Linked DNA regions of Homo sapiens: all the other regions are linked to region 2. The links are contacts of gene promoters, found by promoter capture Hi-C in blood cells and fetal thymus (Javierre and others, 2016). All regions are on one chromosome and are shown on one strand. Each heading gives the region's core, a stretch centred on a gene start or on the middle of the fragment in contact. The rest is flanking DNA. Distances are from core to core; before and after follow the strand shown.

The links. Contacts are between HindIII fragments. The CHiCAGO score rates a contact against its expected background, and 5 or more counts as called.
Region 1: a contact is called between a fragment that was not itself captured here and the fragment with the promoter of GPR65 in region 2, in 2 of 17 cell types (total B cells and naive B cells). The highest score is 8.1, in total B cells.
Region 3: a contact is called between a fragment that was not itself captured here and the fragment with the promoter of GPR65 in region 2, in 1 of 17 cell types (naive CD8 T cells). The highest score is 5.4, in naive CD8 T cells.

Annotation. Positions count from the first base shown.
Region 1 is chr14:88,825,858-88,830,142 of GRCh38, reverse strand. The region is part of intron 1 of TTC8 (tetratricopeptide repeat domain 8); the gene reads right to left. Among named protein-coding and RNA genes, the nearest start is that of TTC8, 3.3 kb to the right of the region's middle. The HindIII fragment of the contact is 471 bases long and covers 2,404-2,874 here.
Region 2 is chr14:88,002,291-88,006,622 of GRCh38, reverse strand. GPR65 (G protein-coupled receptor 65) reads right to left here and starts at 1,488. Exons shown (of 2, transcript NM_003608.4): 1 at 1,401-1,488. RefSeq lists enhancers at 44-103, 904-1,073. The HindIII fragment of the contact is 4,497 bases long and covers 1-3,902 here.
Region 3 is chr14:88,540,473-88,544,585 of GRCh38, reverse strand. All of the region lies in intron 2 of PTPN21 (protein tyrosine phosphatase non-receptor type 21), which reads left to right. Among named protein-coding and RNA genes, the nearest start is that of PTPN21, 12 kb to the left of the region's middle. The HindIII fragment of the contact is 518 bases long and covers 1,791-2,308 here.

The sequences.
Region 1 (4,285 bases), core at 1,390-3,889, 820 kb before region 2:
TGAGTCTCCTCAGCTTAAACTGCCGAGTCATTGTTCAAAATTTAGTAATAAAAGAAGGGGGAAAAAGTTTAAGAGAATAGAGGAATTGATGGATTTCAGAAGGTTAGAGAGATCTAGTGACCACGCAGCCAAGTGGGAGTGTAATCTGTGTAATTCAGCAGGAATACAAATTCATAAAATGACCTGCCCCACAGCGTATAGAATCAAAGGATTAAGTCTGGCTAAGTCTCCATGGCCCCAAAGAGGAAACCAATTAGATAATCACACGATATGTTCTTTGGCTTGGATCACCAAATCACTGTCTCAACCAACTACTAACATACAGCTCATTGGGGAGCCCTGGTTTCATGTCTTTCATCTAAGCCAGTCATTTTCAGCCATTTCTCCTCCTTCAAACCATTTACAATAATAACCCCCTCCTCTCTGTAACATCTCTCATTATAAGCAGAGATTGGGGCAAAACGAGAATGTAAGTTAGAAAAAAGTCTTTCTCCCATTCTGATACACAGCTAATGGGTCCCACCCTCAGAATCACCGATTTTAATAATCTGAAAATCTACCAGACACCTACCCCATTAATGAAAGCATATTGTCTTTTAAAAATCCCACTGCCTGAAAAACCTTTACGTTTTATTAACTGTTTAATTATAATGGAGCTAAAAATCAGGACTGGTTTTAAAGCCATGAATCTGACATATGGAACACAAAGAACAGTAAACAGATTAAGCAACTGATCAGGATGATCAACATGAGCTGCAGAAGCAAACATTCTCTCTAGGTCACAGTGCTGTACGGAGAGGACTGTTTTGCATTTCCTCTTTTTATATCTTACAACTTTTAACCACTTTTTCAGTCACGATTTAAAGAACACTTTGAAAAAGATAATGCTTCTCTATGAATTGGTTATTCCTATTATATTTAATCAAAAAAGGGAAATTATAATAAATTAATCAGTTATCTTTCTTTCTTTATTCTTAACAGATCTGAACTTTAATACTCTTCATGCTTACAGACCCCGGCTGGCCTCTGTCCCTCACCATTCTGTGTCTAGAAAAAGCAGTTGAGAACCCATATTCTTCAAGAACCCTTCCCCATTACCAAACACCATATTATTATATTTAATCTACCCTTCAGTTCTTTTGTAGCCAAATTAAAATGTATTACTCTGAAGAAACATGCTGTTGCATAGTACATCATACCTCTCTGGCTAGCCTGACTATCAAAAATAAAATCCAGAAATCCTAATAGAAAATACAAGGCAATAATTAAAGACTTTTGATGATTCTACACCAAAATAGTATCCCTTAAAGGCGAAATAAATGCATATAAATAGTCTTAGAGGTGGCCTTCATCTCAATAAGCTAATGTATCAGGACCAAAATGTTATCTTTTTGAAGCTCCCTGGACCAGCTTATAAAAAGATTAACAAATAACAAATCATTTTTGAGAGGTTTTTCTCATCTGGGAGAAAAATAAGCAAAACCAAAAGTGAAAAATGACATTATTAAAAACAAAAACTATCTTTTGTAATGGGGAGGGGAAAACGTAAGAGCAAAAATGAATCCATTTGGCACTAAGAAGAAATATTTTAATTTCTGGGCTCCTCTATGTGTCCAGGAGTTTCAAATTCACTCCATACTATAATCAGTTTGGTGGCACAGAACAGTAATTCAAATAGTTATAGAGGAAAAGTACTCTCAAATGTCAAAACCTCAGTAAATGCCCATGAGGCTAAAGGGGCATGAAGGTGAACCAGCTAACTGCGGAGCAGAGGACCATCTGCTCACGCTCTGGTCACATTTCTGTTAGCTTTTCATAGATTGTGAATCTCTCCATCATTTAACTTCCTCCACCGAAACAAAGAAAGCACTGTAAGAGATAGCAATGATGATCATTACTATTAGAAACACTCTCCTGGAGGAACCTAGGAAGCATTTTAAAAATTGATTTTTAAAAACTGACCCTCAAAACAAGAATTAAGAATGCCCATAATGAAATTATATTTATTTGAAAAAGTAAGTGTACATTTAAGAACATATGGTGCTGAGAATTAAGGATGGGGCAGGGGAAGACAAAGATCATCAAGCAACTACGACGACCTTCATAGAGAGGAAGCTGACAAATATGAACAACTCCATCAAAACACACACATGAACATGATCGACGCACTCATTCAGCAAATACATATCAAAAGCCCCTGTGTGCCTGACTCTGCATCAGGTGCTTGGGATACCACACAAACCTGCTATTGTGGAGTCATGTTCTAAGGAAAGATAATTTTCAAGCTTGTAATCAAAGGAACTTCCTTAAGCTTCCTTCCTAAAGCTCTTCTTTAATTGCATCAACACTCTAACATAAATATTAATTTTTTTAATGAAGAAAAAGGCAGGATTTCTTCAAGCTTGGGAAAAATCATTCTGGGAAATATTTCCAACATGAAATAACAACTGGGTGCAAAATACAGAAACTGGTGTTACGAAAAACATAGAGTAATAACAGCACAGTGTTCAAAGTTAGGTCAAAGAATGACTAACATGAGTAAGCCCTGTAAACTTTTCAATAGCCCTACCTAGTAACAAAACCTAACTCTGGTAAGATGACATCAAGTTAAACGTCTATTCCTGGTAAAATGCTACTCATTATTCTGGCAATACATACAGTTCAACCATAATAAACTACCTCAACAAAACAAAACAAACAAATAAAACAAATAAAAATTATTAGAAAGGAAAAGAATATCAAATTTCCTCCAGATCTGGTACTGATTCTCTTAGACCTACTCTATATATATTGGAGCTGAACATATCAACCCTTGCTCATAAAAATAAAACAATAACTTTTTTTGAAACTTCTATTCAGGTCTGGTCACAAGCTTTTCGGATAAGGGATACACAATCTGTAGTAAGCACTCAATGAAAGGTCATTGAGATGAATATATATCAAGTCCTGATATCTCAATTTATAGGTGCAATACTGAATGTCACTATGAACTCAAGATTAGAGGGTCTTAACTATTAATAAAAATATTGCTGCTTTGCCTACATTTCCCGATGTACCAACATCTTCCCAGGATAACAGTGAAGATATCTGACCCTTTCCCTGGGTCAAAAAAAAAAAGGAATCCGGTGGTCAAATAAGTTTCAGAACTATTTAATTATTTGGATTAATCAAAAATAGGCAAAATTAGTTTCCTTTTCTTCAAAACTACTCAGAGCCTTTAGGGTGCATCCTGAATCTCCAAGAAGGAACATACATTTCCCAAATGTACTTAATGAGGGAACTTGTTCTCACTGAACAGCTCTTGGGACTACTGTTTCGTGGAACACAGAATGAAAACTACCGTAACTCAATGGAAAAATTAAAATGGCACATAAAGTTCCTGCAAACCATTGTGCCTAGAACAATGTCTGGCACATCAAAGGTTCTTTTTTTGAGACAGAGTCTCTCTGTCGCCCAGGCTGTGGAGTGTGGAGTGCAGTGGTGCGATCTCCGCTCACTGCAAGCTCCGCCTTCCGGGTTCACGCCATTCTCCTACCTCGGCCTCCCGAGTAACTGGGACTACAGGCGCCCGCCAACACGCCCGGCTAATTTTTTCTATTTTTAGTAGAGAGGGGGTTTCACCGTGTTAGCCAGGATGGTCTCAATCTCCTGACCTCGTGATCCGCCCGCCTCGGCCTCCCAAAGCGCTGGGTTTACAGGCATAAGCCACCGTGCCCGGCCACATCAAAGGTTCTTAACAAGCTTCTGTTGTACCAACGTAAAGGGTCAATATTTTGTCACAAGTCCCAAACATATTTGATTGTGTATTTTTTTAAGCAATATCTATAAGATTACTATGCCAAAAACACATTTGGGGGCTGGGCGCGGTGGCTCATGCCTGTAATCCCAACACTTTGGGAGGCCGAGGCAGACGGATCACGAGGTCAGGAGTTCGAGACCACCCTGGCTAACACGGTGAAATCCCGTCTCTACTAAAAATACAAAAAAATTAGCCAGGCTTGGTGGCACGTAACTGTAGTCCCAGCTACTCGGTAGTCTGAGGCAGGAGAATCGCTTGAACCTGGGAGGCGGAGGTTGCAGACAGCCGAGATCGCGCCGTGCCACTGCACTCCAGCCTGGGCGACAGAGCGAGACTCCGTCTCAAAAAAAAATAAAAAAAAATAAAAAAAATTTAAAAAAACCTTGGAAAAATGCTTGTCTACAGAAATATAGTCCTATTAATTAATGTGAACTAACAACAGAACCTAGCTTTGTATTACCACTAACGTAGGCTGTTCTAAGAGAG
Region 2 (4,332 bases), core at 239-2,738:
AATGGTATGACAGATTAAATGAAAAAATGATTTTTAGAAAGGTTTATAAAGTTTTCAATGGAATACATTTCTCTAGCTGTAAAAGCATTTCCTGCCTTGACTTAACCACAAGACAGGATGGGTTGATGAAGCAGAGGCCCTCTTCTTTGTAGTGACGCAGAGGCAGTACAGGCTTGTGGTTAAGAGCGTGGGCTCTGGAGACAATTCGAATGCCTCTCAACAGCACTCTGGGCCCATTGGTGTTTCTTCACCTCTCTAAGTTCCAGTTTTCACATGTGTAAGTTAGTACCCAGTTTCTAAGATTGTTGTGAGGGTTAAATGAAACGACATATGAAGCAAAGTTCCTAGCACATGGGAGGCATTCACTGTACGTTAGCTGGTAATATTGTTTTAATGACATTGGTAGTCTGCACCAATCTTTGTGCTGTCCCCTACATTTTCTGAAAAGAAATCATCTTTAGTCATCTAGCCACAGCATAGCAGAAAAGCTGGAGGTGCTCAGAGTGTAATTTATATGGTAACACTTCACGTATAATACTAGGCTCTGCAGATAATAGTTGTTCATTTAATTTGGGTGGATCTGAGATTTTAGTGGAATACTGTATATAATTCCTATTACAGTATTCACATATCTTTTCAGATATTATTTTGCCTCCTTTAATCAAATTTTGAGAAAATTGTTTTTAGAACAAGCACTGAGAAATTTTGGTGAGTTTTTAATTTTTTAATTTTTACCAGATGTCAAAAAAGACAATCTACAGTATATTAAAGTATATCTATTCTTGAACAGATCTAAAAATAGTACAAATCATTGATGACGATGACCAAAAGTACAATATTTTCCTACAGTGTTATAGAAAATGCTTGCTTTCATCTATCAGTTTAATAGTTACTTATTAAGACTCTACTATATATTTCAGGCACTGTGGTAGTCACTTATTAACTAATAATTATTACTTGACATTTATTAATACTGGAAATATTCTTTCCTAATATCACATTTTTTTCTGATGGATATAAAAAGTATTTACTGGACCATTGTACAGATGAGGGATTGGTGCCAGATAGCTCTAAAGCCAGGGGCTGGTAGGCTTCTTCCTAATACTGAATGAAGTTTGCCAAAGCACTGTTTCCTGAAAAGAAAATAAAGTATGAACAACCCCCTTTTTCTATATCTATGGTTTTGCCTAATTAGTTCTAAATTTAAAGTTTGGCCCTTTACCACTGCTCAAAGTAGAGGAAACCATGTGTCTTCCTCATTTCTTTCTCTCTTATCATGCTTTGCATTACCACATTTATACAGCCTAAACCAGGAAGAATGTTGCGAACATCACTGACAATTATGCCAAAGCATGTTATCTACTTTAAAATATTATTTTATTTTTTAATCTTATACTTACCCATATTTCTTCCGGTGATGTGTTTGTTGACTGAGGAGCTTGATAAATCTGTGCCTGCATCAAGTCAAGAAGAGAAACCAACACTGCTGAGGGGACAGGAAATTGCACTCATATTTCAGCACAAACCAATGAGGAAGCAGCATCTCAATGAGAAGGGTGTGCGTTATCCAAGTTTGAACAAAAAAAGTCTCTTAAATACTTTTAAAGATGTTTTTATTTATTGTTTACTGTACTGTAATTTTTATAACTCACTTGTCTCATTGCATCTTAATTACAAGTATGTACTGATATTATATTATATGCCCTTTACTTAATGGAATATATGTTAAATATTTTATTTATTTCTTTGTTCATTCATTCATTCATTCATTCATTCACTCATCATGCCAGCAGTGTGCGGGGAGATGTATACGAACTGGCTATCAACCAAAAGCAGCTTTTTTTACCTAGTAAAGGAGAAAGACATGTTTAATAATGATTGTAATGCAATGGCAAAATGAAGAAGTACTTCAAGAGGGGTACAGATAAAATAGAATGAACCATTTGGATGTGTGAGATAGGGGAGGATATTGTAGGTAGATTCAGGGTGATAAAGTTCCTGGGACAAAAACAGAAAAGGGAGAATTGAGGCTGAGGGGTTTAATGATGGATATTGTGCTGCTTAAGGCAGGGGTTAAGGTAGCCAACCTCATACCGTCTTTCTTTTCTTTTTTTTTTTGAGAGACTAATGGGATTAGATATATAGTATTTGATTGTAGAACTATTTTCTCCTTTGATTCTCTCCTCTTGGAAACAGAGATGGCTAAAAACCAGTTGAATTAACTAGCTGAGACAAATAATTTTATGAAACTTGAAAATTTTATTTAAGACTTACATTGTTATTATAAAAACTCTTGTACTTTAGCAAGTTAAAGTTAATGCCAAATCTATAAGTGGTTTAATATGAAGTGAAATTAGCTCCTATAACTTTCTTACTATTGATATATAAAAAAGTCAGAAATATCACTTTTGAATCTTGCCCTCATAAACTTTTATTAGAAATGAAGGGAAAATATTATTTGAAAGAACAGAATTTATTTGGGATGAAAACATTTGACTTAATTTTAAAGATGTAATCAGGACATTTTGAATCTGTGTTTGTTAAAGGACATTAAGGGTTGTTGCTGGTGTTTTTTTTTTGTTGTTTTTTTCTCCCTACCCAGAGATAGAAAAGATTAGCCTGTATATAAGCAAGGCTTTCCATATTGAAGTTGATCAGGGTATATCAGGAATGTAAAGATTTTCAATACTTCCGTTGTAGGTCTTTCTTTGAGAATAATAAAACTAATACCTTACATTTATAAAGCACAGGATAGTTTATAAAGTAATTTAGCATATAGTAAATTATAAATCAATATATTGTTACTGAAATAATAAAAATTAAGTATAAAGTAAAAAATTAACAATAAATGTCTTGAAGTTTTACAAAAATGAAAAGTAACGATTTCAGTTTACTTGTGACTGTAATTCAAAGTTCTCATTTTTGCTTGGTTTCGTACATCTGCTTATCTGTGGTTTCTATACATGATATATCTTTTTTTAAGTTCGGGGTACAAGTGCATTGTTACGTAGGTATTTCATTACTCTGATGATCTCTTACTTTATCTGAATAGACTATACTTCTGCTTTTAGGGAAAGGGTATTTTCATGTCCATATCTAATATTCATGTATTTTGCTTTTCAAAAGAAAAAGATTATCATTAAGAAACATAAGAAACACAAACTTTCACTTCTGATTAAAGAGGAGAAAAAGCTGGAGCTGACCTATGCTAAAACCTTGCCAACTCTACACAATAAGAAATTTACCAGCTTTTAAGAAATTTGCTTCTTAATATGGAAAATATGGCAATACTGTATTTTCAACTATAGGGCTATCTTTTATAATGAACGGTTAGAAATTTTAAATCATTGAGTCACTGTGACATTTTAACAACATAACAATGAGATAAAGACAATTAGTAGTTATTCAGAACACTGCCTTAACGGGGTTGGCATTTCTGACCAGTCAATTATTTGGTTTTCTGTGGTCACAATCTGGGGACCCAACACTGGCCAGTTGGGCTACTCATGGGGTAATGGGGAGGAGATTGTGGATCTACCTGGTTCCAACTTCTCCATTGGGCAGACAGTGCAAGAGTGTGTTCTACTGATGAAGGGGTCCTTTGTGAGGCCACACTATCTGCTAGGTGTAATTTCACTAGCTAAAGCGGCAACTAAATATGGCAGGGTAAGATTTTGAAATAATGCTATATTTTCCCAGCCACATTTCTTTTCACTCTAGCCCTACCCTTACACAATCAGTGAGCCATTTTGCATTTATTGCCTCAAGGAAATTTCTGGCACAAGCGGGGGGGAAAAAAAGAAGACAATGTGAGTTTTGACTTTCAAAAATTCAAGGCCTTGGAAAAGACTGAGGCACAGACACTATGCTTGGGAGAATATGTGCTGAAATAAAGTAAAGCTTCCCAGCCCCCAAAACTGAAAAAGATTGTCCTGCTTGGCGGGGGTTGGGTTTAACGTTGTGAGAGAGGAAGTATGTTCAAGAGTTAGATGTGGTCAGTGCTTGAGAAAGGGGCCCTGCATCCTGATTGCTGTACTCACTTCCAAGCAAGCCCTGAGGTAGGGGTGGGTGACAAACACCCTAGATGAGTTGTGTGATCTGGGGAGGAGAGTGAACCTGTGCCTCATTTCCAAGGAGAGACTCAGGAGTATGTACCTGAGAGACCTCACTGTCATAGTTGGGTATGGTTTGTTTGTCTTTATAAAGCTGGTGTTGATTTGATTCCCAGTGTGGCAGTAGTGGGAAGTGGGGCCCAGTGGGAGACGTTTGGGCAATGGGGGTAGATCCCTCCTTAATGGCTTGGTGCTGTTCTGAGGTAGTAAGCGAGTTCTC
Region 3 (4,113 bases), core at 800-3,299, 540 kb before region 2:
ATTTTTCATTTGTAAGTTGGGGATAATAATAGTACCTACTTGATAGTGGTTATGAGGATTCGGTGTTAAATGTAAAACATTTAGCAAAGGACCTGGTATTTGGGAAACTCTCAATAAGTGTTCTTCTTTATTACCATTTTTGTTGATGTTATGTTATTGTTATTAGTGACTCCTATCCCCTGTTGTAGTAACTGACCAAATTCTCTTCATAGGAATTCTTTTCTTTTCTTTTTTTTTGGTGAGATGGAGTCTTGCTCTGTTGCCCAGGCTGGAGTGCAAATGGCGCGATCTCGGCTCACAGCAACTTCCGCCTCCCGGGTTCAAGCGATTCTCTCACCTCAGCCTCCCAAGTAGCTGGGATTACAGGCACCTGCCACCACTCCTGGCTAATTTTTGTATTTTTAGTAGAGACTGGGTTTCACTATGTTGGCCAAGCTGGTCTTGAACTCCTGACCTCAGGTGATCCACCCACCTTGGCCTCCCAAAGTGCTGGGATTGCAGGCAGGAGCCACCGCACCTGGCCTAAAAAGTTTTTTAATCCTCAGGATATGGGGAAGTTGTGAAACCATGGAAGTCTCTTCAAGGTTATTTTTTTCATGTTTGCTGTGGTATATTGTGTTAGTTTTATAACTTAGAGGACAGTTTTCTTTCAGCTGTTTCTGAGGGGGGTGTGTGCATGCTGGGGCGTCTTTATTGTTGTTCCCATATATGGCCTTCATACATAACTATTGTTTTGAAGTTGAGTTAAATACTGAGCCACTGCTAAAAATTACCTCCAGGGTATTTTGTTGAAGATGAAAGTCTAGCAAAATATATATAGTGGCCTCTCATTTCTTAATTATAGGCTTTGGTTTATCATAGATCTTTACGAAATGTTTTTTAAATTGTGTGTTTAGTGCGTTACACACAATGTCAAGTTTTTGTTCCATAGACTGTAAGCTCCATCAAAGTAGGACTCTTGTTGACTGGAGCATTGCCAGGGTCTGGGATGGCACCTTGCACCTATGTTGTTGCTGAATAAATGTTTACTTAGTTTAAAAATTAAGAGTTTAGTTTTGAATTTAGATTGATAAACATGGACAGCAGTACAATTAAGTCAGCCTTTGTTTGCTCTGATTTTATTTCCTGGAGAGAGGTAAACATTTCCAAAGTTTTGTATACAGATAGAAAAGCACCATTTTCTTTAGACTCTTCTTTTTCACTTTGGGGCTTCTTCTGAAACACTTAGAAAGTGATCTAGTTGTAGTGGCTCCCTGATGTAAGATTGCTGTGTCAAGGGAGTGTCAGCTTCCTCACTGGACTTTGAACAGATACTTCTCATAGCACCTTATGGCAGATGGGGATATTTTTTCGCTAGGGGATTTGTTAGAATAGAGAGGAATCAAGCATATAACGCAAACCATAACCCTCAAGCACAACTTTAGAAAGTGTTCTTGGCCATCAAAGTGTTTTATTTTAAATTAGTGTCTTAGGTATTCCAAATATCCACTGACCTTATCTTGACTGTTATCTGAGTAGACATCAAGAATTTCATGCTTATTTCCTTGTGTACTAGCTGTTTTCATTTGGACTCTAAAAATAGCTGATATATATGTAAAGTAAAAGTCTAGTACCCAGAAACTTTTTTACCTTTTGGGCCAAGTAGTTATTCATTTAGGTATGTACGTTATAAAACAAGTAAGACCGAGGTAGAGACAAGAATCTGTGAATATTTTCAGTTAGAGCTATTGGACCGTCTGAAGCAAATATAATGTTAGGTTGGTTGGCCTCTCACCTAGATAGAGAAAGCTTTCCCAAGTCTAACACCAATTATAAATGATCAGGGATTTTTCTTGATGTTTAGGTTTTGTTACTTTTCTTCTTTGGTCTAGGTAATTAAGAATTAGCCATATAAATAAGTATGGAAATTACACATACAAACATGGAGGATATGCATTTTAAAGTCTATTCTACAATCACAAGTTATTGCAGAATTTGGAAACCTGTTTATTTGAAGAATAGAGTATTATTCAACCTAGACTTAGTGCCTAATAAACTTAAAGGCTAATAACCTAAGATGTTTTCCTTTCAGTATTGGATTTTTCCCTTGAGATACCAGATGTCCTTATTTTCTTACCATCAGTCTGTCACAGTAGTGTAGTCTCAGGACCATGTGGAATTAAGCATGAATTTACTCATTCGAGATTTGTAAGGTGAATTACAAAATGGTGGACATGAGGGAACTGATGGTGTTTTGGGGGCTCTAAGTGCTGTCACTGTCTTTGGTGTATAGAATCAGATTCCATTCCTTCTAATATCTCTAGAAGCTTTGACTTTCTGCTGTCTCCATTTGGGTAAATGAGCGTTATTGTGCTGGAAGCTTTATTTACCTCATTTAATCTTCACAATGAGTTAGGCGTTGTATTATCTTTTCCATTTTCAAATTAGGAAACTAAACTTAAGAAAAGTTTGAGTGATTACGTAGCTAATAAGCAAAAGACCCAGGATTTGAGATTTTATATCAGACTTCTGCTCGAACTTTGACCTTTAAATTTGTGGCGGTCATGGACCCCTTTGAGATCTGATGCAAACACAGAATTTTGTATACAATTTCAGGTGGTTCATAGCCACTCTCTCCCCCAAGTCCATCCATGGGCCTAGGCTGTGGGCCTGGAGGCTTCCTGGTTAAGGCAGTCTTTCCCTTTTTCTCCCCTTGTCACAGAGCAGGATCTTTCTTCCCTGGTCTTCTACTTCCCAGAGTGAAAGATGCTGGAAGGATGGAATATTTGTGAACAATTCAAGACCTTCATAATTAAAAAATAATAATTTGCCTCTGAATATAGAGCCTCCCCTCGCTGACCCTTCTACTACAGATGCCCTTTTTTTCTTTGGCCTTCATCTTTAGGTCTCAGGAAGGGCCATTCATTGCTCAGTGGGACAACTTACTATTAAGGAAAAAGCCCCTCTCAGGGGGGACAGAGGGGAGGTCATGAGTGGGAATTCCCCCACTGTCCTGCTGATGGTAGATCCATGTCTGTCTTCCCTGCTAGGCAGCAGGTATGTGATGCATCTTCAGGAATTGAATGGATGATTCATTCTTCCTTTATACATTAATCAAGTTCCCAGGCCAATTGTTGAGCCCTCTGTATCATTCTTCTTGTCAGATACACACTTTATGTGAATATGGCATTTTCTTTTCTATTAACAAGGATTCATCATTCTTTTAACAGTATGCCAATTTAGCGAATATTTTCCTATTCAGTTCTCTGAGCAATTTGTTCATAAACAAATGTCACTTAGATTTCCTTTATCTTTTAATGAATTGACAGAACATACAGAGGCAATTTAAGTTTTTGCCTAAGATGCTAACATTACTAGAAGAAACTGTGTATGTCACAAATCCTTCATGAGGATTGGTAGCATGTAGTAGAAATAACTTCCTATCAAGGGTTTGTACCACTTTCTATAGTAGATTACCCAAATATGATCATTAAAAGGTGTATAGTGTTGAGATTTATATATGGGGCAGAGTAGTTTTGTTATTTTAAATAAGTTTTGACTTATTTTGCCTACTCAGGCTAAGAAAATATACGGGTAATCTCATGCTGAGTGGCAAGCTCATGTGAATCTAAAAACAACTTATTGGCCGGGCAAGGTGGCTCATGCCTGTAATCATAGCACTTTGACAGGCCGAGGCAGTAAGATTTCTTCAGTCCAGGAGTTCACCACCAGCCTGGGGAACATAGTGAGACCCTATCTATACAAAAAATTAAAAAATTAGCTGGGCATGGTGTCATATACCTGTAGTTCCAGCTACTCTAGAGGCTGAGGTGGGAGGATCACTTGAACCCAGGAAGGCAAGGCTGCAGTGAGCCATGATCATGCCACTGCACTCTAACCTGGGTGGCAGAGCAAGACACTGTCTCCAGAAAAAATAAAAATAAAAACAACTTGTTATGTTACAGTTACTTAGATGGCTCAGACTTCGTTGACTTGTCAAATGAACCTCAATGTCAAGTGAATTTTCAGCACATTGAACTTTATACCATTTGATTCAACTACATTTGGCAAAGTGGGGTTTTGGAAGAAAAGAGGTAAAGTTTTGGTGCTCAATGGACTTGGGTTCAAATCCCT